Regions from separate parts of the Homo sapiens genome. Here region 2 is linked to region 1. Evidence: promoter capture Hi-C in human tissues and cell types (Jung and others, 2019). All regions are on one chromosome and are shown on one strand. The core of a region is centred on a gene start or on the middle of the fragment in contact, and the rest is flanking DNA. Distances in the headings are between cores, read along the strand shown.

Region 1 (7,480 bases), core at 1-2,500:
TCTGTGCGGGTAGCTCCATCCACAATGAACTGGGGGTTTGACAGCAGTTCCTACGAGAGACCCAGAGTCCTGTTCCTCGGCCAGCCCCTCCCAGAAATTGGCACCAGGCCACCCCAGACCCCATTCCCCACCAGGGACATGGAGTCCCATCCCTACTCCTCATCCAGGATCTGGCTTAGCCGAGTCCCACCCAGGATGGCCCCTCTCACCGTGGGACGCTTCCACTTGATGCCATAGGTCTTGGAGGAATTGGGACCCAGGTCCTTGTAACCCAGGCTCTGGGGTACCGGGGGGAAGGCCTCATCACGGAAGAGGGTCCCACTCTGCAGGCATCGCACCCGCAGCTGCTCATAATCCTGGCCCAGGTACTTGATGGCATTCTCATGGCGGCCCAGGCCCAGCTCCCTGGCCCGCTGCTTCTGCACTTGGGCTGACACCCCAGTGCAGTACACCGGCGTGATGATCTCCTCCGACATCCTGCCGGACAGATGGGCCTGCTCAGAACCCAGGCCTTCCCAAGACTAGAACCTGGGCTCCTGCCTGCAAGCTCTGCTCTCCTGCCCCTGCTTATCCATCCCCAAACCTAGGGTTTCCCTGCCTCACTGCTCCCCTCACAGAAGTAGGGTTCTCAGCCACCTCCCGGTGCTCCCAGTGAATCCAGGAAAGGGATTTCCCAGTTCCCAGGCGTGCCGGCCACCTCTCCTTTCCCGGATCCCATTGTCAGGGGCTTGCAGCTCTGTAGTGAGCCAGCAGGTCAGGTGGGGCAGGGCGGAGCCTCCAGACAGCACAAGGAACTGGGCAGGTGGGACACAGCAGGGAAGGCCTCTTTGATCCTGTTCACAGGCCTGCAACCCCCTCCCCAAACTAACCAAGCTCCTGGTGCACCGGCCCCTTGCCGTGGGCTGAAAACCCCAGACGGTCGGGGTCCCCCTCCTCAGGCCCCCGCAGCAGGCTCGATATCAGAGCTGGTGGGCCCTAGCCCAGCCCCTGGGGACAGCGGTGAGCCAGGCTGGGACAGGCGCCTGGGCTGTGCCGCTCCGCCAGCCCCCACCCCTGCTCCAGGAACGCAGAGGCCCCCGAGAAGGGACCGTGCTGGGGCAGCCCCTCAGCCCAGGAGCAGTGGCCAGGGTCAAGGAATCCCGGCTCGGCTACCCAGCTTCTTACCTGGGGGAGGGGTGTTTGGGGGTCGCTGCAGTCCCTGAGGCTGGCTTCCCGGTGGCAGCTCAGGGCAGGGCCCAACCAGGAAGAGCGCTCCTCCCCGCCCTCCTCCCGCCGCCCCTCCGCCCTCCGCCCTCCCTCTCTCCTTCTCCTCCTCCTCCTCCTGGGGCTCCTACCCCGCTTCCTCTCGGCTCTCCCTTATCTCTCCGGCACGGTCTCTGACTATCTCTTACTCACGGTGTCTCCCCGCCCCTCCCTCCGCAGGCCGGGGGCCAATTCCGCGAGAGGACAAATTAGTAAAAGGCAGAGCAGTCCCCGGGGAGGGGCCAGCGCGGGGGGGGATGGGGGGGCTGGGGCGCGGCGGAAGGGCACCGCGGGGAACGGAGGGGGAGGGCCGGGCAGGGGGTATTTTTAACCAGGGGCAGCAGCTCGAGTTGCAGGGCCGGACGGCCGCACCCCACGCGCGCCCTGGCGGGCATTCCGGGGCGATTGTGCGGCGGCGCCGCCTCCCGCAGCCCCGGGCCCGCCCGGTCCCCAGCTCCCCTCGCTCCGCGCGACCGCAGCTGCTCCCGCCGTTCCCAGCCAGCCCCGGCGCGGGGCCGAGATTACCTCGGGCTGCGGCAGCTGCTCTGAGGAGGGGCCGGGCTGGCAGCGAGCAGACCCCTGCCGGACACTCAGCAAACGGCAGCCTCACCCCGCAGGGCCGCGCCACTCCCCTTCCCCACCCCACCGCCGCGTCCCGGCTCAGCGCTCCCCGGGGAACGCAGGGGGACCGGGCTCGCTGCGTGACCTTGGGTAAGTCCCTGCCCCGTTCGGCCCGACTTTCCGCATGCGTGCATCCTATGGGATGGGGTTGGGCAATTGTGGGAGCCCATCTTTCTCTAACGTTCTGGGGTTTCTTGAACCTGGAAACTTAGAGAGGTGGACATCCCTGTTCTCTCCCCCAGGCTCTCAGCCCACCCACCTGGAAGCGCCCATGTGTCACCTTACCCAGGAGAGGGCGGCAGAGGCTGCGAGCAGGACGGCAGCCCCCTCTCCCCACCCCCAGGACCCTGAGATCCTGCTTCACGGGCTGCAAGAAGTTGGGGGGCCAGGATTCGGCGCGGAGGCCGGGGGTGTGGGTGGGGAGACTGCAGAGACTCCCGAGACCCCCCCAAGTCAGGGCTTTTCGCTGGTCTCGCAGCCCCAGCCCAGCAGCTGCTGCAGTCTTGCATGTTGTGGATGCAAGCATTTTGCTGAGGAAACTGCATAGCGTTCCCAGGACTCTAGGGCCCACGACCCCTCAAAAGTTAAGAGCCGCTGATCTAATCTAACCCCACTTTCACCCTCAGTTAACAAAAGAGGAAAACTGAGGCCTGAGAGGGTGTGACTTGCCTGAAATACCTAACCTGGTGAGTGATGGGTGGAACCAGCTCCTAGGCTTTCTGCGCAGGTGTCCAGGGACAGAGAAGGGTGGTTTAAACTAGAGAGGTGGCAGGCAGAAGTAGATGGATTTGATAACTATTTAGGATACACCATCAAAATTTAACTCAAACTGGATTACACACCTAAATATAAATGGCCAAACCATAAAACTTTTTTTTTTAAAAATGGAGACAATCTTAACAATATTGGGTTTGAAAAGATTTCTTTTTTCTTTTCTAAAGGCAGGGTCTTGCTTTCATTGACCAGGCAGGAGTGCAGTGCCCTGATCACAGCTCACTGTAACTTTAAACTCCTGGGCTCAAGAGATCCTCTCACCTCAGCCTCCTGAGTAGCTGAGACTACAGGCACGTGCCACGACACACAGCTAATTTTTAAATTTTTTGTAGAAATGGGGTCCTGCTGTGTTACTCAGGCTGGTCATGAACTCCTGGGCTCAAGCAGTCCTCCTGCCTGAGCCTCCCAAAGTGCTGGGATTACAGGTGTGAGCTTTGGCACCTGGCCAGATTTCTTAAATATGACACAAAAAGTGTAAATGATAGAAGAAATCAATAAATTGAACTTCATCAAAATAAAACGCTTTTGTTTCTCAAAATGCACGAAACTATTAAAAATGAAAAGATAAGCCATAGACTAGGACGAATATTTGTAAAAATTCTATCTGATGTAGGACTTGTATAAAGAACTTTTACAATTGAATAAAAATCCAATAAAAATGGACAAAACATTTGTTTGTTTTCTGGTGTTTGTTTTTGTTTTTGAGATGGAGTCCCGCTCCATCACCCAGGTTGGAATGCAGTGGCGCGATCCTGGCTCACTGCAACCTCCACCTCCTGGGTTCAAGCAATTCTCCTGCCTCAGCCTCCCCAGTAGCTGGGATTACAGGCGCCCGCCACCACACCAGGCTAATTTTTGTATTTTTAGTAGAGACAGGGTTTCACCATGTTAGCCAAGCTGGTCTCAAACTCCTGACCTCAAGTGATCTGCACGCCTCTGCCTCCCAAGGTGCTGGGATTACAGGGTGAGCCACCGCGCCTGTCAAAAAATGGACAAAACATTTGAACAGACACTTCATCCAAAAAGATCTCTGGATGGCAAATAGGCACATTAAAAAACACTGAGTGCATTACTCTTAGGGAAATGCAAATTAAAGCCACTAGAAGGACTGCTTCTAAAAGAACACCTACTAGAATGGCTAAAAGTTAAGATCAACCATACCAAGTGTTGTTATGTTGTCAAGGATATAGAAGAACTGGAGCTGTCATACACCAAGAGAGGGTAAAATGATCACCACCACTTTGGAAGACAGTTTGGCAATTTCTTTAAAATTTAGCGATACAAAGAAATCAGCCATCAAGCTACAAAAAGACATAGCATAACCTTAAACGCATATTGCTAAGTAAAAGAGGCTGGTATTAAAAAGCTGCATACTGTATGATTCCAATAACTCTATATGACGTTCTAGAAAAGGCAAAACTAGCAATGGTAAAAAGATCAGCAGTTGCCAGGGATTCAGAGGGGTAGGAGAGGGATGGAGCACAGGGCATTTTTAGCACAGCGAAACTATTCTGTATGATACTGTAATGACGGATGCATGACATGCATTTATCCAAACCTGCAGAATGTACAACACTAAGAGTGAACCTTAATGTAAACTATGGACTTGAATTAATAATATTGTGTCAATATTGGTTCATCAGTGATTACAAATATACCACAGGCTGAGCGCAGTGGCTCACCCCTGTAATCCCAGCACTTTAGGAGGCTGAGGTGGGCGGATCACATAAGGTCAGGAGTTCGAGAGACGAGCCTGGCCAATATGGCGAAACCCTGTCTCTACTAAAAAATACAAAAATTAGCTGGACGTGGTGGTGGGCTCCTGTAGTCCCCACTACTAGGGAGGCTGAGGTAGGAGAATCACTTGAACCCAGGAGATGGAGGTTGCAGTGAGCCAAGATCACACCATTGCACTCCAGCCTGGGCGACAAGAGCAAAACTCCGTCTCAAAAAAAAAAAAAAAATAGAACTTAGTCACTGGTTAGATATGGCTCTTGGACACCAGGAGAGACCAAAGACAACTTCAGACCCTGGATCTGGCTTGAGCACCTGAGTAGATTAAAGAGAAGGGGGAATGCACTAAGCTGGAGGGACAGTATGGGATCAGGGTATGGGGTATCTTTGGGATCCCCCTATCCAAGAGGAGATTCCTAGGGGTGAGGAACAGACCTTGTGCTCAAAATAGAGGTACAAATTTGGGAGTCACTAGCCACCAAAAAGCAGAGGCAAGGGGGCTGACACCTTGGTCTTCATATGAAGATGCTTCATATAGATGTCAATTCTCCTTAAATTAATCTCTAAGTGTATCACAATGAAAAATTTTAAGAGTCTTCTGGTGGGAGATAAGGAGGGACTAGAAAAGCTGATTTAAAGGTCATATGGCAAATTAAACAAGTAGGAAACTTCTGAAAATAAAAGACATAATGAGTATAGACTAATCCTACCAGATATTAAAACACAACAAATCTATCATTAAAAGGTAATAATTAAAGAGGGTTACTGACACATAGAGATCAATAGAAGACAGAGAAATTTAGAAACAGATTCAAATACAGGCAGGAATGTAGTAGATGATAAAAGTACCATTTCTAATCTGTTGAGAAAAGATGAGTTAATAAAAGACATTAGGAAGAAAAGGGAGCAATCTGGAAAAAAAGTAAGTTGGATTCATAATTTGTATCTTAGAAAAAATTACAGATGAACTCAATTTATAGGTTTGGAATATGTTGTTCCTAATGAAAAAAACATTTAAAAAGGCTGGGTGTGGTGGCTAACACCTGTAATCCTAGCACTTTGGGAGGCCAAGGTAGATGGATCACCTGAGGTCAGGAGTTCACGACCAGCCCGGCCAATATGGTGAAACCTCGTCTCTACTAAAAATACAAAAAAAAAAAAAAAAAAAGCTGGGCATGGTGGGTGGCAGGCGTTTGTAATCCCAGCTACTCGGGAGGCTGAGGCAGGAGAATTGTTTGAACCCAGGGGGCGGAGGTTGCAGTGAGCCGAGATTGCACCACTTCACTCCAGCCTGAGCAAAAGAGTGAGACTCCGTCTCAAAAAAATAAATAAAAATTTTTTTAAAAATTAAAAAATAAAAACTCTAGGTCTGGTGTGGTATCTCACACCACCTGTAATCCCAGCATTTTCGGAGCCTGAGGTGGGAGGCTCTCTTGAGCCTAGGGGTTCAAGGCCTCAGTGAGCACCGCTGCACTCTAGCCTGGGCAACAAAGCAAGACTCCATCTCTAAAAAATCAATAAAAAATAGGCCAGGCGCGGTGGTTCATGCCTGTAATCCCAGCACTTTGGGAGGCTGAGGCAGGTGGATCACGAGGTCAGGAGATCAAGACCATCCTGGCTAACACGGTGAAACCCCATCTCTACTAAAAATACAAAACGAATTAGCCGGGCGTGGTGGCGGGCGCCTGTAGTCCCAGCCACTTGGGAGGCTGAGGCAGGAGAATGGCGTGAACCCAGGAGGCAGAGCTTGCAGTGAGCCAAGATTGCGCCACTGCACTCCAGCCTCGGCGACAGAGTGAGACAACGTCTCAAAAAAAATAAATAAATAAAAATAAAAATTAAATGTTAACCTTCAATATTTAAACGTACAAAAATGAAAACGAAAATACAGCCAGAAGCTGGCTGGGCACGGTGGCTCATGCCTGTAATCCTAGCACTTTGGGAGGCTGAGGTGGGTGGATCACTTGAGGTCAGGTGTTCAAGACCAGCCTGGCCAACATCGTGAAACCCTATCTCTACTAAATATACAAAAATCAGCTGGGCATGGTGGCACACACCAGCAATCCCAGCTACTTGGGAGACTGAGGCACAAGAATTGCTTGAACCCGGGAGATGGAGGCGGAGGTTGCGGTGAGTGGAGATCGCACCATTGCACTCCAGCCTGGGCAACAAGAGCAAAACTCCATCTCAAAAAAAAAAAAAAAAAAATACAGCCAGGAGCTAAAGGAGAAACTTTTTGTATCATCTCAGTGTGGAAACAGTCTTTTTAACTATGACACAAAACCCAAAAGTCATAAAATTGCATTTTTTACTACATTAAAAATCCATACAGTTATGTCAAAATGATGGACTGAAGAAAACATTTACAATTAACATCTTAAAGGAGTATTTTTCTCCATATACATATATAAAAAATCATGTTCTGGGTGTGGTCGCTCATTCCTATAATCCTAACACTTTGGGAGGCCTAGACAGGAGGATTGATTGAGGCTAGGAGTTTGAGACTAGCCTGGGCAACATAATGAGACCCCATCTATAAAAAAATTAGAAAATTAGCCAGGTGTGGTGGTGCATGCCTGTCATCCCAGCTACTCCAGAGGCTGAGATGGGAGGGTGGCTTGAGCCCAGCAGTTGGAGGCTGCAGTGAGCTATGATTGTGCCACTTCCCTCCAGCCTGGGCAATAGAGCAAGATGCTGTCTCTAAGAATAAAATAAAAGTAAATCCCAGCACTTTGGGAGGCCAAAGTGGGTGGATCGCTTAAGCCCAGGAGTTCGAGATCAGCCTGGACAATACGGTGAGACCCTGTCTGTACCAAAAATACAAAAAGTTAGCTGGGCATGGTGGCCTGTAGTCCCAGCTATCCCAGAGGTCGAGGCTGCAGTGAGCTGTGATCGCACCACTGTATTCCAGCCTGGATGACAAAGCAAGACCCTGTCTCAAAAAAAAAAAGTTCACAAATAAAAGAAGACAAATAGGTCTTAAACATATGACAAGATGTTGAGCTCACTGAAAAGCAAATGTGAATTAAAATTTCACCAAGAGACTGTTTCCCACTTAGCAGTTTGGCAAAGATAAAAATCTGGCACCTCACGGCTGGGTGCGGTGGCT
Region 2 (2,500 bases), core at 1-2,500, 1.3 Mb before region 1:
AGGACCCAGCCCTTGGGCTGTCCCAGTGGAGGCCTAGCTCCAGAAGGACACTTCTGTAGGCCTTACTTTCCACACCCAGGTCCACCCATGCTTCATTTCCACCTCCTCCTCTTTCCCCAGAAGCAGGCCTGTCCCTTCACTCCCGACTTCAAAGCCCTTGCCAGGTCTGACTCCACTCACCTCGAGTGGTCATGATGAGGGTGTTGTCCTCCCGCCCGTACCGGCCAAAGCAAAGGCTGGTCACTGCATCCTATGTGGAGACGTCAGAGTTTAGTTGGGGAAATATCTTGGAGAGGAAAGCAAGACAGGGGATGGGTAGGGGAGGCCCCAGATATAATAGGTGAGAAGTGATAGAGACAGGCCTGGGGAATCGCTGCCTCTGAAATATTTCCTATATTTCTCATCTCCCCTCCAATCTCACTACCTCAGTTCCAGACCAAATATCACTGGCCCTCACTTTTGGGGTCAACCTCCTAATAGATCTCCCAGACTCGTCTTTCGGGTCTTTCTCCCCAGTCTGCCCTTCACAATGCTGCCTTTGCTACCTTTCAAAAACACAAATATGTCTGGTCTCTGATAGAAAACCTCCAATGGCTTTTGTTCTCTTTCTTAGGACACTGAAGGCCTTCCACATTTGACTCCAACCCGCCTTTTCTGTCAGTTCTCTCCTCTTTACCCTTCTTTCAACGAGCATACCACCGGCCCTCCCAGCACCTATGGCCCAAGCCAGTTGTTTGCAAATTTTATACTGTGACACAGGACAATTTACACACACATACACAGTTTCACTTGTGACATACTTTTTTTTTGAGATGGAGTCTCACTTCATTGCCCAGGCTGGAGTGCAGTGGTGTGATCTCCAGCTCACTGCAACCTCTGCCTCCTGGGTTCAAGTGATTCTGCCTCGGCCTTCCCAGTAGATGCGATTATAGGCATGCACCACCATGCTTGGCTAATTTTTCTATTTGTATTTGTAATTATTTATTTATTTTTGTTGTTTTGTTTTTTTGTTTTGAGACAGAGTCTTGCTCTGTGGCCCAGGCTGGAGTGCAGTGGCGCGATCTCAGTTCACTGCAACCTTTGCCTCCCAGGTTCAAGTGATTCTTCTGCCTCAGCCTCCCAAGTAGCTGGGATTACAGGTGTGCCATCACACCCGGCTTTTTTTTTTTTTTTGAGATGGAGTCTCGCTCTGTCACCCAGGCTGGAGTGCAGTGGTGCGATCTCGGCTCACTGCAAGCTCCACCTCCCAGGTTCACGCCATTCTCCTGCCTCAGCCTCCTGAGTAGCTGGGACTACAGGCACCTGCCACCATGCCCGGCTAATTTTTTGTATTTTTAGTAGAGACGGGGTTTTACCGTGTTAGCCAGGATGGTCTCCATCTCCTGACCTTGTGATCTGCCTGCCTCGGCCTCCCAAAGTGCTGGGATTACAGACGTGAGCCACCGTGCCCGGCCCATACCCGGCTAATTTGTTTATTTTTAGTAGAGATGGGGTTTCACCATGTTGGCCAGGCTGTTCCAGAACTGTGATCGCCTGCCTCAGCCTTCCAAAGTGCTGGGATTACAGGTGTGAGCCAATGTGCCTGGCCCTCACTTGTGACATACTTTGAATTTACTATTCTATTTTTAAAAATGTTGCTGGTTGTGATCTACTAAACTGATTTAATGATTCACAACTTAGAGTCTGAAAACCTCTGGTCCAAACTCATCAAATGACCTGGATTCCTTAATCAAGAGCCTTCATACTTCTCAGGCTTTGTGCATGCTATTCTCTGTGCAGAATGTTCTTCCTCCATTTGTCCACCTGACAAACTGTTCTGAGGCCCAGTTGAACTGTCACTTGTTCTGTGAAGTGTCCCATGGAGTCCATCCCCATTTATCTCACCCCCCACCCTTGTCACTCAGCACCCTCTGCGCTTTTTAGCACTTTGCTCTGCTTCAGTCGGCCCTTTTAAATTTGCTATGTCTCTGGCTGGCTGTTACCTTAGACTGTAAGCCTCCTGAAAACAAGGACTTAGTCATCATTTTACCCCCCACCCCTACCAATATGGTGACTGGTACATATGAGGTGCTCAACACATTTTTTTTTTTTTTAAGATGGAGTCTCGCTCTGTTGTCCAGGCTGAAGTGCCATGGTTTGATCTTGGCTCACTGCAACCTCCGCCTCCCAGGCTCAAGCGATTCTCCTACCTCAACCTCCTGAGTAGCTGGGATTACAGGTACGCACCACCATGCCCGGCTAATTTTTGTATTTTTAGTAGCAAGGGGGTTATGCCATGTTGGCTAGGCTGGTTTTGAACTCCTTACCTCAGGTGATCTGCCCACCTTGGCCTCCCAAAGTGCTGGGATTACAGGCATGAGCCACTGTGCCTGGCCTCAACAAATGTTTTTGAAATGCATCAATGTGTGGTCGGAAGAGGCAGCTAAGAAGCCCCAGAGGTGAGACGAGGGCAAGGAGGAGTGAGTGGCAGATGCCGGAGATGGGGCTCACCGGGGTGTGG

What was found. The method cuts DNA at HindIII sites, captures the fragments that hold promoters and counts their contacts. A contact is called where the count stands out against the background at its distance.
Region 2: a fragment that was not itself captured here is called in contact with the fragment with the promoter of CAPN1 in region 1 in 1 of the 25 tissues and cell types used here (hippocampus).

Annotation. Positions count from the first base shown.
Region 1 is chr11:65,175,698-65,183,177 of GRCh38, reverse strand. CAPN1 (calpain 1) reads right to left here and starts at 1,250. Exons shown (of 22, transcript NM_005186.4): 1 at 1,165-1,250; 2 at 210-477; 3 at 1-50. The coding sequence starts at 476. CAPN1-AS1 (CAPN1 antisense RNA 1) reads left to right here and starts at 1,344. Exons shown (of 2, transcript NR_145677.1): 1 at 1,344-1,953; 2 at 2,106-3,307. RefSeq lists enhancers at 1-773, 774-1,563 and silencers at 586-880, 1,482-1,931. The HindIII fragment of the contact is 8,891 bases long and covers 1-3,676 here.
Region 2 is chr11:66,523,873-66,526,372 of GRCh38, reverse strand. It overlaps BBS1 (Bardet-Biedl syndrome 1), which reads right to left. Exons shown (of 17, transcript NM_024649.5): 11 at 2,491-2,500; 12 at 181-250. It also overlaps a transcript of ZDHHC24 not described here. Among named protein-coding and RNA genes, the nearest start is that of BBS1, 14 kb to the right of the region's middle. The HindIII fragment of the contact is 5,922 bases long and covers 1-2,500 here.